2 separate regions of the Homo sapiens genome follow, and region 1 is linked to region 2. The links are contacts of gene promoters, found by promoter capture Hi-C in human tissues and cell types (Jung and others, 2019). All regions are on one chromosome and are shown on one strand. Each heading gives the region's core, a stretch centred on a gene start or on the middle of the fragment in contact. The rest is flanking DNA. Distances are from core to core; before and after follow the strand shown. Region 1 holds the start of ONECUT3 (one cut homeobox 3). Region 2 holds the start of C19orf25 (chromosome 19 open reading frame 25).

Evidence for each region. The method cuts DNA at HindIII sites, captures the fragments that hold promoters and counts their contacts. A contact is called where the count stands out against the background at its distance.
Region 1: a contact is called between the fragment with the promoter of ONECUT3 here and the fragment with the promoter of C19orf25 in region 2, in 11 of the 25 tissues and cell types used here (H1 embryonic stem cells, IMR-90 fibroblasts, bladder and 8 more).

What each region holds. Positions count from the first base shown.
Region 1 is chr19:1,749,008-1,755,046 of GRCh38, reverse strand. It overlaps ONECUT3 (one cut homeobox 3), which reads right to left and starts at 1,541. Exons shown (of 2, transcript NM_001080488.2): 1 at 193-1,541. The coding sequence starts at 1,384. The HindIII fragment of the contact is 24,245 bases long and covers 1-6,039 here.
Region 2 is chr19:1,475,544-1,481,418 of GRCh38, reverse strand. C19orf25 (chromosome 19 open reading frame 25) reads left to right here and starts at 2,204. Exons shown (of 3, transcript NM_152482.3): 1 at 2,204-2,256; 2 at 2,514-2,645. The coding sequence starts at 2,516. RefSeq lists enhancers at 2,038-2,157, 2,519-3,019 and a silencer at 2,378-2,427. The HindIII fragment of the contact is 27,509 bases long and covers 1-5,554 here.

The DNA.
Region 1 (6,039 bases), core at 292-2,791, 270 kb before region 2:
CCCTTTTGGCAACGGTACAAACGGGCAGCGGCGCGGATCGCGGTCTAGCTTCCTGATAGGGGGTCCCGGGCTGCCGGGGCGCACGGGCGGGGCTTGGGGCGCTGGCCCCGGGCATCGGCCGCCGCCCCGCTAGGTGCTCGGGAGTCCAGAGCCGGCGCCCCCAGGGTCTGGCCCTGCGCGCCACGCTCCTACCTGCCAAGCGCAGCGCCGACATGCGCTGGAACTCTGGCTCCTGCAGCCACTTCCACATCCTGCGGAAGGTCTCGCGGCCGGATTTGAGCTTGCTCCACGGCTTGGGGTTGCGCAGCAGGTCGGAGAGCGTGCCCTGAGAGCGACACAGGATCCGCTGCGCGAAGATTGCCTGCGGGATGCTGTAGCGCTTCAGCTCCGCCGTGATGCGCTGCGCCACCTCCTTGGTGTTGATCTCCTCGGCCGCTGCGCCCGCGCTGGGGCCGCCGCCGCTCCCGCCGGGGCCGCCGCCTCCCCCGTGCGGCCCGTGCGCCCCGGCCGCCGCCAGCCCGCCCAGCGGCGCCAGCAGCCCCGCGGCGCTCCCGCTGCCCGCTCCGCCGCTGCCTGTGCCGCCGCCGCCTCCGGGCAGCCCGCGGGCCAGTGCGTCCTCCGCGCGTCCCAGCAGCGCGGCGTGCGGCTCGAAGGCGGCGGGCGGCAGCAGCTTGTCCCCAGCCAGGTGGCCTGGCGGGCCGTAGGCGGCCAGCGGCGGGGGTGGTGGCGGCGGCGGGGGCTGCGGGGCGCCGTGCAGCGCGGGCGGCAGCGCGTTGGGCAGCGGCGACAGCGGCGACCCCATGGCGGGCAGCTCCTTGCCGTAGGGTCCGTAGAGGTGGCCCACGGAGGCGAGCGCCGCCCGCTCGTCGCGCATGAGGGTGAAGCTGCCGCTCACGCTGGCCGCCAGACGCTGCGGCGGGGGTGGCGGGGGCGGCGCGGCCGCCGGGTGCGGGTGCGCGTGGGGATGGCCGCCGTGCGCCCCGGCCACGGCCGCGGCCGCCGCGTGCTGGTGGAACTTGTCGGCCACGGCCGCGAGCGGCGGCAGGTGCTGCAGGGGCGTGAGCGTCGTGTAGGTGCCGCCCAGGCCCGGCGCCTCGCAGGCCATGCCCATTGCCGGGTGCAGCGGGCCCGCCAGTTCCCCGCGGAAGTCCGCGCCGCCGCCCGCGCTGCCCGCGCCGCCCGCGCCCCCGGCGCCCCCACCGCCGCCGCCGCCGCCGCCGTCCAGCAGGCTCGCCATGCCGGCCACCAGGCCCGGGCGCCCGGGCGCCACCAGGCCGCGGTGCTGCGCCGCCGCCGAGCGCGCGTGGCCCGGGCTCAGCAGCTCGCCCGCCTGCGCGTGGGCCACGCTGTGCAGGCCCCCCAGGCTCTCCAGGCTCAGCTCCATGCTCGGCTGCCCTCCCGCCGCGCGCGCTCCTCAGCGCCGGCCCCTAGTGCTCAAGGCCGCTGCATGACTCCCGCCCGCTCCCCGGTGGCTGCGCGCGAGGCTGCCAGGCTGCGCGGCGCACGGCCCGGCCCGGCTGCGAGCGCGGCCACCAGGATGTGGCAGGGGAGCGGCCGCCGGCGCCCGGGCCCGGGTCTGACGTCAGCGCCCCCGCCCACCCGCTCCTGCCACCGCTGCCTCCCGCAGCCTCGCTCTCCGCCCGCCCCGGCCCCACTCGAGCACCAAGCAGGCCGAAGTCGGCCAGACTTGGGGCTTCGGCGTCCCTGGCCACTGCGCCCGCCCGCGCCCGCTGGGGCAGGCCGTACCCGGGGGACAGCGGGCGGGGGTCCGAGGACAGACTCTGCCCAGGTGGGGCTGGGGGCCTCGACCCAGAGTCTCCGATTTCGCGTCTCTGTGTGATTCTCTCCAGAGTCCCAGATGTGGCTTTCTGCCTGGCACCCCCAAGTCCATCTCCAGGGAGTTTCTGGGAGTGTGGCTGGACGGTCGCCTGTAATGTACGTGTCCCCCCCCCCCCCCGTTCCCTACAGACCCCCAGGAGCTAGATCCCCACTGCAAGCTCAGCTTCCCCCGACTCCCACTCACACCTACGGAGTCACAGCCCCCTTCCCACAACCTCTTTGTGGAGGAAGTGGGGGAAAAGGGAGGTCCTAAGGCTAGGTCAGGGCCTCCGTGCGCCCCAGGGGTCAGCCTCTGCCCATGTGTGGGCACCTGGGCCTCCGTTTCCCCAACTGTACAATGGGCTGCCCGGCCTCGGGGTTGCCAAAGGCCCCTTCTAATTGCAGGGCCTTTTTACAGTGCGGCCGCTGGAGGCACTGGAGCCTGGGGGTGACCACTAAGAGCCCCTGTCACCCTCCAGCCCACGGAGGCTGAGGCTGGATCCCCTGTCTTCTGAGACGTCGCTGGTGCAAACTCCTCTTTGTCCCTGGGGCTTCTCTTCAATGTGGGGGGAGGCAGGGGTCTCCTTTTTCTCAGCACCTGGAGACAGGTGAGCCCCAGGGGCCCCTGGGAACTGGGATAGATGGGGGAAGGGCTCCTATAATCAGAGAGACCCCCAGGGGACTAGATCCCGCCAGTGGGGTAAGGTCAGGGCTGCGGATCTGGAGGGGCCAGACCAGAATCTAGAGGATGCTCTGTCTTGTAGGCCAGAGGCTACGGTGCAGAGTCCAAAACCAGCCTCAGCCCCTTCCTGCTTCCCCGTTGCCTCTGCCCCCCCCACCCCCGGGGTAACGCTTGTGCACTTTCTAGAAGAGGAAGGGGATGGGTCAGGCAGTCGGTTCGCGGGAGCCCCCAGTTACCCCCATCTCAGAGGGTTGCATCAGGGCTCAAAGCTGAAGGAAGAGGGGAGGACACAGTCAGGCTGTCACTTCCCCTTTGGTGCAAACCTTCTGGGCAAACCCCGGCCCCAGCTTTGCACCTGCATCCAGATTTCCTGGCCCCTGTAGACGTGGCTACACATTGGAGATGCGATTTTCTGAACCAAGACTAGGTTGGCTCTGGAATAGGGCCCTTTCTGTGCCTCAGTTTCCCCTTCTCTGGTGTGGGAGGGGGTGCCCTCCAGCCTGCCCAGCTGGGAGCCGGAGGTGAGTCTATGCTGACCACAACAGCCAGAGAGAGAGGGGGCCTGAATGATCTGGGCCCCCAGCCTGAGGTGGCCTGATCCAAGTCCTGGGGAGGGATAGGGCTGAAGGGGACCCCTGTTAGTACTCGCTGCTTAGGGCTCGGCATTTAGTAAGTGCCTGTTATTTACCAGGCATACTCTCCTCTCTCAGCCCCAGAGAGGGGGAAGTCAAATCACAATTTTTCCGGGTGTCTCTGGCCCAAGGTGGGGGGGTGGTGGCCCTAGAGTTCCCCCCTTCATTCCTACATCTGCCCAAGTGCTAACTCCTGCCCCCTGAAGTGTCGGTCCCTAAACTTTCCAGTTCCAGGGTTCAGGTATAATTTCTGGAGTTTACATAATTACACCCATCTTCCAGGTGGGAAGAGAGGGGCAGGTCCGAACAGTCGCGTACCCCACTCCCCGTGCAGATGCTGAATCTCGGCGGGGGGGATGTGGCTGCACAGAGCCCCAGCCTGCGCTCCTCATTCTCACCCTCCAACAATCACAGATAATTAAAAATAATCGTGAGATCTAAAAATCAATCAGCCGCCATAAAACGCTAGCATCCCAGGCTCAAGAAGCGCAGACCAGGTGGGGGCTGGGGGTCTCTACGGGTGGGAGGATAACAAGGTGGAAGGAAGTTCCCCCAAATGCCAATGTGGGGGAGCTCCTAGGGAGCTGGGATTTTGCAGGCTTCCTTTTAAATATATTTTTTACAGCTTGATGATCGTGTTCATTTTAATAGCAAGCGTGTGTGGCTTTTCTAGCAGGGAAAGCATCCATTTTGAAAGAGAAGACGAGGGTCAGGGACTCCGAGAGGAAGAGGGCCTCTCCCCTCTGCTGCCTCAGGACACGCTAAGGTGGCCACAGACCCCTTCCAAAGCTCCCTAGACTTGGAAGGGGCAGCCCAGCCTGGTGGACCTAACCCTATCCAGGTCTGCGAAGCCCCTCACCCCTCCCTTCGGCTGATGGACACTTGGACTCCCCCAGGGATGGGGATCTCACTCCTTGTAGAGGCTGTGGTCCCGTTGAGAGATTGAACAGAATTTTGCTGGCCCCAAGAGAGGGACTGTGGCCCCCTGGAGCCCCCAGCTTGCTTCTCCCCACCAGCAGCAGCCTTTTAGTAATTAGTAAAATAGAATTGAGCCGGCCACCGGGTAGGCTGGCTGCCCAGGCCCAGATCGATCCTGGGTCATTAGGCAAATTGTGGGCAGGGGGAGGGGTGGGCTGGATCGGGACAAGAAGTCCCCCTTCCCCACCCCACAGGGACCTCAGCCACCTCGAGGAAGCTCTCTGGCCTCAGTATCCCCTCCAGGAAGATGAAAGTTTGACTCCCAGAGCCCGAGTCTGTGTCTGGGAGTTGGGGAGGGGGACCTCAGCAGGTGCTGGGCTGCCCCAGACCAACGCTCACCCTCTCTGTGCCTGGCCTGCGTCTGGGAGGAGTCAAAAAGGGCAGCCTCTGGTCCTGCCAACCTCAGGGCTTGGAGAGTCCCGCGGGTGGAGGGGAGGACTGGGGGCCTCCACCCATGCCCCAGGGGTGCGCACTCTCCACGGCTTCAAACTCCCTAAACGGACCCCCTAAGCTTGAACCCCCTCTTTAATCCTCCACACCTCCCCCATTTTTGGACACACCACCTTCCCTGTTGTTATTGACTCTCCCATTGCAGCTAAAAATATCAAAGGCAGAGTCAGATACCTCAAGTTTTCCTTTCCTGGGGCTCCCCCAGAACCCTGCACAGTGCGCCCCCAACTGACTTTCTGATTCGATTTGTCTCCCACCGAAATGAAAGTGTCCGGGCTCTGCGCACCCCTCCCTGCTTTTATTAAAGCGAGGTTTTACTAAACGATGGCAATGAATGCGCGCCCCACCCAAGCCCAGCCGCAGCCCTAGATCCGCTCTGCTCCCACTCCCGGCCCCCGAAACCTGCGGGCGCCCCAAATCCCGGCCGCCGGTGCCTAGTGTGTGGCAGGAGTTCTCCCTCTGGACTCCAGCCGCCTTCGTTCGGGCGGGGTCTGGGGATTTTATTTAGATTTGGGGGGAGACTCTGGGCTTTTACGGCCTGGCGGGGGTCCCGGCGAGGCTGAGCGCGCGGCTCCCGAAGGTTCCACGTTGGCCGTGGGGACGTCCTGACCTCCCCACCCCGGGTGTCGCGACTTTGGGGTTTCGCCCCTGGCGGGCCCGACGTCCCGGATTTCCTGCCCGCAGTTGCGGGGCGCCCGGGCAGCTCTGGCCCGCGGGTGGATGCTCCCGCGGGCTCTTAGGCGACAGCTGTGCCCGATCGATCCCCGCGCCCGCCCGGGCTCCGTTGCCCCCGCCGCGGCGAGCGGCTCCATCGAATCCTCATCGCTCTCGGGCCGCGCCGCCCGCCTCGCGCTCGGCAAACACCGCGCTTGTTTGCGCCGGGGCACCGAGGCTGGGCGGCCGCGGCTGGCCGGGGAGCGGAGGGGTTGGTCCCTGGGGCCCCGCGTCCTCGTCCCCTCCCTCAGCAGCTTGGCCTCCGTCGTCCCAGAGTTCTGGGACACAATTAGAGGAGGGAATTCTATGCCCTCTTCTCGGGGCTCTGTCTGGCAGGCGCGGGAGACGGCCGGGCGCGGGACTTCCGCCGCATCGCCCTGGCCGCGCCTCAGTTTCCCCATCTAGAAAGTAACACGCTGGGGCGGGGGCGTCCGAGGGTGCCCGAGGGGAAGGGTCCGGGCTCAGGCGGGAGGTCAGGCTGCTCTCCTCTCGCGGCCTCCGCCTGCTTTGCCTCCTCTGTGCCCGGCCCGACCGATGCAGGTCAGAGAGCCGGGCTGGGGGTTGAGGCGCAGCCGGAGGGGTCTGGGGACAGGAACGCGCCCCGTCTCGCAGGCCTGGGCCCCTCCTCACTGGACGCCGTTGGAATCGTCTCCCCGCAGCGTGCGCTCAGGAGAAAACCAGTTCGTTTGCTGCAGTTTGCACTGTGGGAAAATGGGGCTTGGCGGCGAGGGGCGCGGGCTGCAGCCCCCGCCGGAGGGTGCGCGG
Region 2 (5,875 bases), core at 955-3,454:
TGGCCTCCTCTGGAGCAGGGTGGGCCCGAGGCCCCAGGGCTCAGGTGGTTTCTGCTTGGGGTCCCCGGACATCAGTCCATGGAGAATGCAGCCGGCCACGGAGAAAGAGTCCGCCCAGGCCCAGGGACCCCAGGCAGTGGGAACAGCAGGGAATGGCCGGGGGTCAGCAGTAATGTCCAGCCCCAGAACATGGCTCACCATGGCCCAGAATCCTCTCCTGCGGTGATTCCTTTGTTTTTTTTCTTGTTTGTTTTGAGACAGGGTCTCCCTACGTTGACTAGGCTAGAGTACAGTGGTGCGATTGTAGCTCACTGCAGCCTTGAACCCTGGCCTCAAGCAATCTTCCCTCCTTGGCCTCCCAAAGTGCTGGGATTACAGGCGTGAGCCACTGTGCCTGGCCCTTTCCTCCCTCCCTCCCTTCCTTCCTTTTCTTTACTTCCTTCCTTCTTTCCTTCCTTTCTTCCTTCTCTTTCCTTCCTTTTTTAGTAGAGATGGGTTTCACCATGTTGGCCAGGATGGTCTCGATCTCCTGACCTCGTGATTCGCCCACCTCGGCCTCCCAAAGTGCTGGGATTACAGGCTTGAGCCACCGCACCTGGCCCCTTCCTTCCTTTCCTTTTCTTTCTTTCTTTCCTTCTTTCTCTTTCCTTTTTCTTTCTTCCTCTTTCTTTTCTTTTTCTTTCTCTCTCGCCTTCCTTTCTTCCGTTCTTCCTTCTCTTTCCTTCCTTTCCTTTCTTTTCTCCCTTTTCTTCTTTACTTTCTTCTCTTTATTTCCTTTTTCTTTTTTTTCTTTCTCTCTCTCCTTCCTTCCTTTTTCTTCTCCTTCCTTCTTTCCTTTCTTTCTCTTTCTTTCCTTTTCCCTCTCTCTGTCCCTTCCTTCCTTCCTTCTCTCTCAACAATATTTTTTTTTTTGAGACAGAGTCTTGCTCTGTCGCCCAGGCTGGAGTGCAGTGGCACGATCTCGGCTCACTGCAAGCTCTGCCTCTCGGGTTCATGCCATTCTCCTGCCCCAGCCTCCTGAGTAGCTGGGACTACAGGCAACCGCCACCATGCCTGGTTAATTTTGTTTTTCTTTTTGTATTTTTAGTAGAGACAGGGTTTCACCATGTTAGCCAGGATGGTCTTGATCTCCTGACCTCGTGATCCACCCACCTCGGCCTCCCAAAGCGCTGGGATTACAGGCGTGAGCCAACACACCCAGCCTAATTTTTGTATTTTTAGTAGAGACGGGGTCTCACCATGTTGGCCAGGCTGGTCTCAAACTGGCCTCAAGTGATCTGCCCGCCTCGGCCTCCCAAAGTGCTGGGATTACAGGCATGAGCCACCGCGCCCAGGCTGAATTTACAGTTTAAACAGGCGAATTTGGCCGGGCGCGGTGGCTCACGCCCGTAATCCCAGCACTTTGGGAGGCTGAGGCGGGCGGATTGCCTGAGCTCAGGAGTTTGACACCAGCCTGGGCAACACAGTGAAGCCCCATCTCTACTAAAATACAAAAAAAAATTTTGACGGACGTGGTGGCGGGCGCCTGTAGTCCCAGCTACTCGGGAGGCTGAGGCAGGAGAATTGCTTGAACTCGGGAGGCGGAGGTTGCAGTGAGCTGAGATCACGCCACTGCACTCCGGCCTGGGCGACACAGTGAGACTCTGTCTCTAAAAAAACAAAACAAAACGAAATAAACAGGAGAACTTTATGGTATGTAAACTGCATCTCAATAAAGCCCCTGAGAGAGGAAAAGGGCCCTCTGCTCTTTCTGCCTTCCCAGGCATCAGCGGAGAGGAAAAGGTGACCTCCAGCACCGTCCCCGAGGTGGGAGGACCCGCCTTGGCCGGAAGTGGAGGCGCCGCGACCGCCCCGCCCCCGCTGTGTTCCGGCCGCCGAGTGCTCATGCACCACCAGGCTCCCTTAGGTGGACAGCAATTTTGTGCTCCCGTCAGCCACATGGGTGGCGTGTCCCCTAGTGCCGTGTTCCCCTTTTCAGAAAGACGAGCCTCGGATGCTTTTCTACCCAGCCAGTGGAGCCTGGACTCGAACTCGCTCTCATCGTAGCGCGTCCAGGTTCGGGTTCGCCTGAGAGGCTGAGATCCGAGTCTCAAGGGCACTATCCCTTTAAGACGGGGCGGAGCCCCGCGATGAGCGGCGGGCCGGCGGGAGAGGAGGCCGGAAGTGTGTGTCACGTGTTCGGGGACGGGGCGGTGCTCCGACCGGAATCGGAAGTGGCTGCGTCGTCGACGCTGGGCTTTCGGGTCCCGCGCCCAGGTGGGAAGAGGCCGGCGACTGGGGTGACCGCGGGGAAACTGAGGCAGAGGTTGAGCCAGACCCTGAAGCCTTGGCCACCGTGTTTTTGGGCGGAGGGAGGGTCAGGGCCTGGGGCGAGCTCAGAGGGGCGGGACAGGGCGGGCTTCCCCGGGAGCGGGACCGCGACGGGTGCGTACGAGTTCGCTGGGCGGGAGGAGCAGCCCGGGCAAGGGCGGAGAGGTGGACGCCCCGGTCAGCGCCCCCTTCCCCGCCTTCAGAGATGGGCTCCAAGGCAAAGAAGCGCGTGCTGCTGCCCACCCGCCCAGCGCCCCCCACGGTGGAGCAGATCCTGGAGGATGTGCGGGGTGCGCCGGCAGAGGATCCAGTGTTCACCATCCTGGCCCCGGAAGGTAGGGGGAGCCCGGTCCCGGGGAAAAGCGGACCTGAGACCCCGGCAGCAAGGGGACGGGAGAGAAGCACACCCCTAACTCCTGACCCCACGCCCTGGGAACCCCCGCAACATGGGCACGGTCCGTATCCTCTCCGAGTCTCCCTCTACTCCTCCGTAGAGTGGGACCGATTTTCAGAGGGTTCTTCTGACAGGGGTGGAGGCCGGGCGCTGTGGTTCAGGCCTGTAAGCCCAGCACTTTCGGAGGATGAGGCGGGAGGATCGCTTGAGCCCAGGAGTTCGAGACCAGCCTGGCCAACATGGTGAAACCCCGTCTCTGCTAAAAATGAAAAAACAAAACAAAAACAAAAACAAAAACAAAACAGAGTTAGCTGGGCATAGTGGCAGGCGCCTGTAATCTCAGCTACTCGGGAGGCTGAGGCAGGAGAATCGCTTGAACCCGGGATGCAGAGTTTGCAGTGAGCCGAGATCGCACCACTGCACTCCAGCCCAGGTGACAGTGCGAGACTGTCTCAAAAAAAAAAAAAAATTACTGGGTGTGGTGGTGGACACTTGTAGCCCCAGCTTCTTGGAGGCTAAAGTGGGAGGATACAGCCTAGGCAACACAGCCAGACTGTGTCTCAAAAATAAATAAGTGGCCGGTGCGGTGGCTCACGCCTATAATCCCAGCACTTTGGGAGGCCGAGGTGGGTGGATCACTTGAGGTCAGAGGTTGGACACCAGCCTGGCCAACATGGTGGAACCTTGTCTCTACTAAAAATACAAAAATTAGCCGGGTGTGGTGGCATGGGCCTGTAATCCCAGCCACTCAGGAGACTGAGGCAGGAGAATCACTTGAACCTGGGAGTCGGAGGTTGCAGTGAGCTGAGATCACGCAACTGCACTCCAGCCTGGACCACAGTGAGACTCTGTTTCAATAATTATAATAATAATTAATAAATAGAAATAAATAAAGTAAAACAGAGGTGGTAAGCTAGGGCCCCCCAAACCCTGCCCCTGGCTGTTTTTTTAAGGTCTGGGAGCTATGAATGGACTTCACATTTTTAAATGGGGGTGGGTGAAAAAGAACATTTCTGACACCTGAAAGAGGTATGAAATTCAGATTTCAGTGTTGGTAAGTAAAGGTTTACGGCACACAGCCAAATGATTCACATACGGTTAGTGGCTGCTCTCACACCAGAAGGGCAGAGTTGAGTAGTGGGAGCAGAGACTCCAGCCTTTGGCAGGAAAGCTTGTCCACTCCTGATTTACGAGGTGGAAGCTAGTCAGAGACCAAAGGATTCAGCAGTGCAGTTGGGTGAATTTTGTGTTCTGGATGAGGCTCATTCATTCATTCAACAATCCTTTTCTTGAGCACTTCCTGTGTGCTGGGCTCTGCGCTTAGAGCACTGCTAATGGACAAGTGAACAAAAGAAACAAGAATGTCTGCCCCAGGCTGTTCTGGGGCTGGCGGGAAACAAATGAAGATGAATCGGCCAGGTGCGGTGGCTCACACCTGTAATCCCAGCACTTTGGGTGGCTGAGGTGGGCGGATCATTTGAGGTCAGGAGTTCAAGGCCACCCTGGCCAACATGGTGAAACCCCGTCTCTACTGAGAATACAAAAACATTAGCTGGGCATGGTGGCGCATGCCTGTAATCCCTGCTACTTGGGAGGCTGAGGCAGGAGAATTGCTTGAACCCAGGAGGCGGAGGTTGCAGTGAGCTGAGATCGTGCCACTGTACTCCAGCCTGGGTGACAGAGCAAGACTCTATCTCAAACAAAAAAAAAAAAGAAAAAAGAAAATGAGCCATGTGGAATGATAGAAACTGTGAATTTCTAAGGGAACATTTTTAAAAAGTAATATTAGAAAATTCTGGGGCCAGGTGCAGTGGCTCATGCCTGTAATCCCAGGACTTTGGGAGGCTGAGGCAGGAGGATGACTTGAGGCCAGGAGTTCAAGACCAGCCTTGGCAGCATAGCAAAACCTATATCTACCAAAAATACACAAACTAGCTGGGTGTGGTGGCATGCACCTGTGGTCTTAGCTACTCAGGAGGCTGAGGCAGGAGGGTTGCTTGCGCCCAGGAGTTGGAGTCTCCAGCCTGAGTGACAGAGTGAGACCCTGTCTCTGAAAAAGAAAAAAAGAGAAAAATTGAGTTGTGTTTTCCCTTTAGACATATTTCAAGTGCCCAGGAGCCACACATGGCTGGTGGCTGGTGTGGACCAGCATCGGTGGGAGGTGTGCGCATCATCTGGAAGGTTCTGTGGGCCGGTACTGGTCAAGGTGCATGAGTTGGTTTTATTCCCAGCATGCAGTTCGGTCACCTGAGGGTGCTGGGGCCGTGGTTTGAGCTTCATGGGCTCAGGTCCATGGCCGTTGAGTGTGGCGAAACTGAGGCACGCTGTGCGGGGGACGGGGGGCGCTCACAGAAGGTAGGGGGCCTCCTGTGCCTTCATCCAGGCACTGCCCGGCCTTTCCCACCCTGTTGCTAAAGCAGGTGATGACAGAGGTGATTTGATCAGCCCAGACCCGTGCGGCACGTGGAGCCTTCGTCCGTGGGAGACCACACTGCCGAGGGGCAGGCCAGAGCCGAGGGGCCCCTGACGCTTCTCTGAGTGACCCTGAAGTCGGTGCTGCTTCAGCCCTGCTGCACTGGGCTTGCATACGTGGGGGAGCAGGGAGCCATACGTAGTTTCTGCTGAATGTGGGAGTCACCAGGACGTCAATGCCCACCTCTCACCTTCGCCACCCCTGCCTCCCTAAGTGTGTGCTCCAGGAGGTTGCACGGCCCCTGGAGAGGTTTTCGGTGGCGGGCTTGTTGCGTCTCTGGCTTCCAGAGACAGCAGGAATGAGAGCCAGGCCAGCTCAGTGGAGTCCATCCCGGTGGGTGCCACGGCTTTTGCAGGAATGGAAGCCCCGCCCCCAGGAGGGCCACTGCTGGCGAGGCTTGAGCTCTTTCTGTGACCCGATCCCCCTGGTCACACGCTTTGCTAAGGCGGGTAGCCTAGAGCTGGAAGCCCCTCCTGCCACCCAGCCACTGTGCCTCTCCCAGCTGATGGACGAGGAAGCCTCCATTACTTGATTTTTGTTTTTATTTATTTTTGAGACAGGGTCTCATTCTGTCACCCAGGCTGGAGTACCGTGGCACGATCATAGCTTATTGCAGCCTCGGCCTCCCAGTCTCAAGCGATCCTCCTGCCTCTGCCTCCAGAGAAGTAGGGACCACAGATGCGTGCTACCACGCCCAG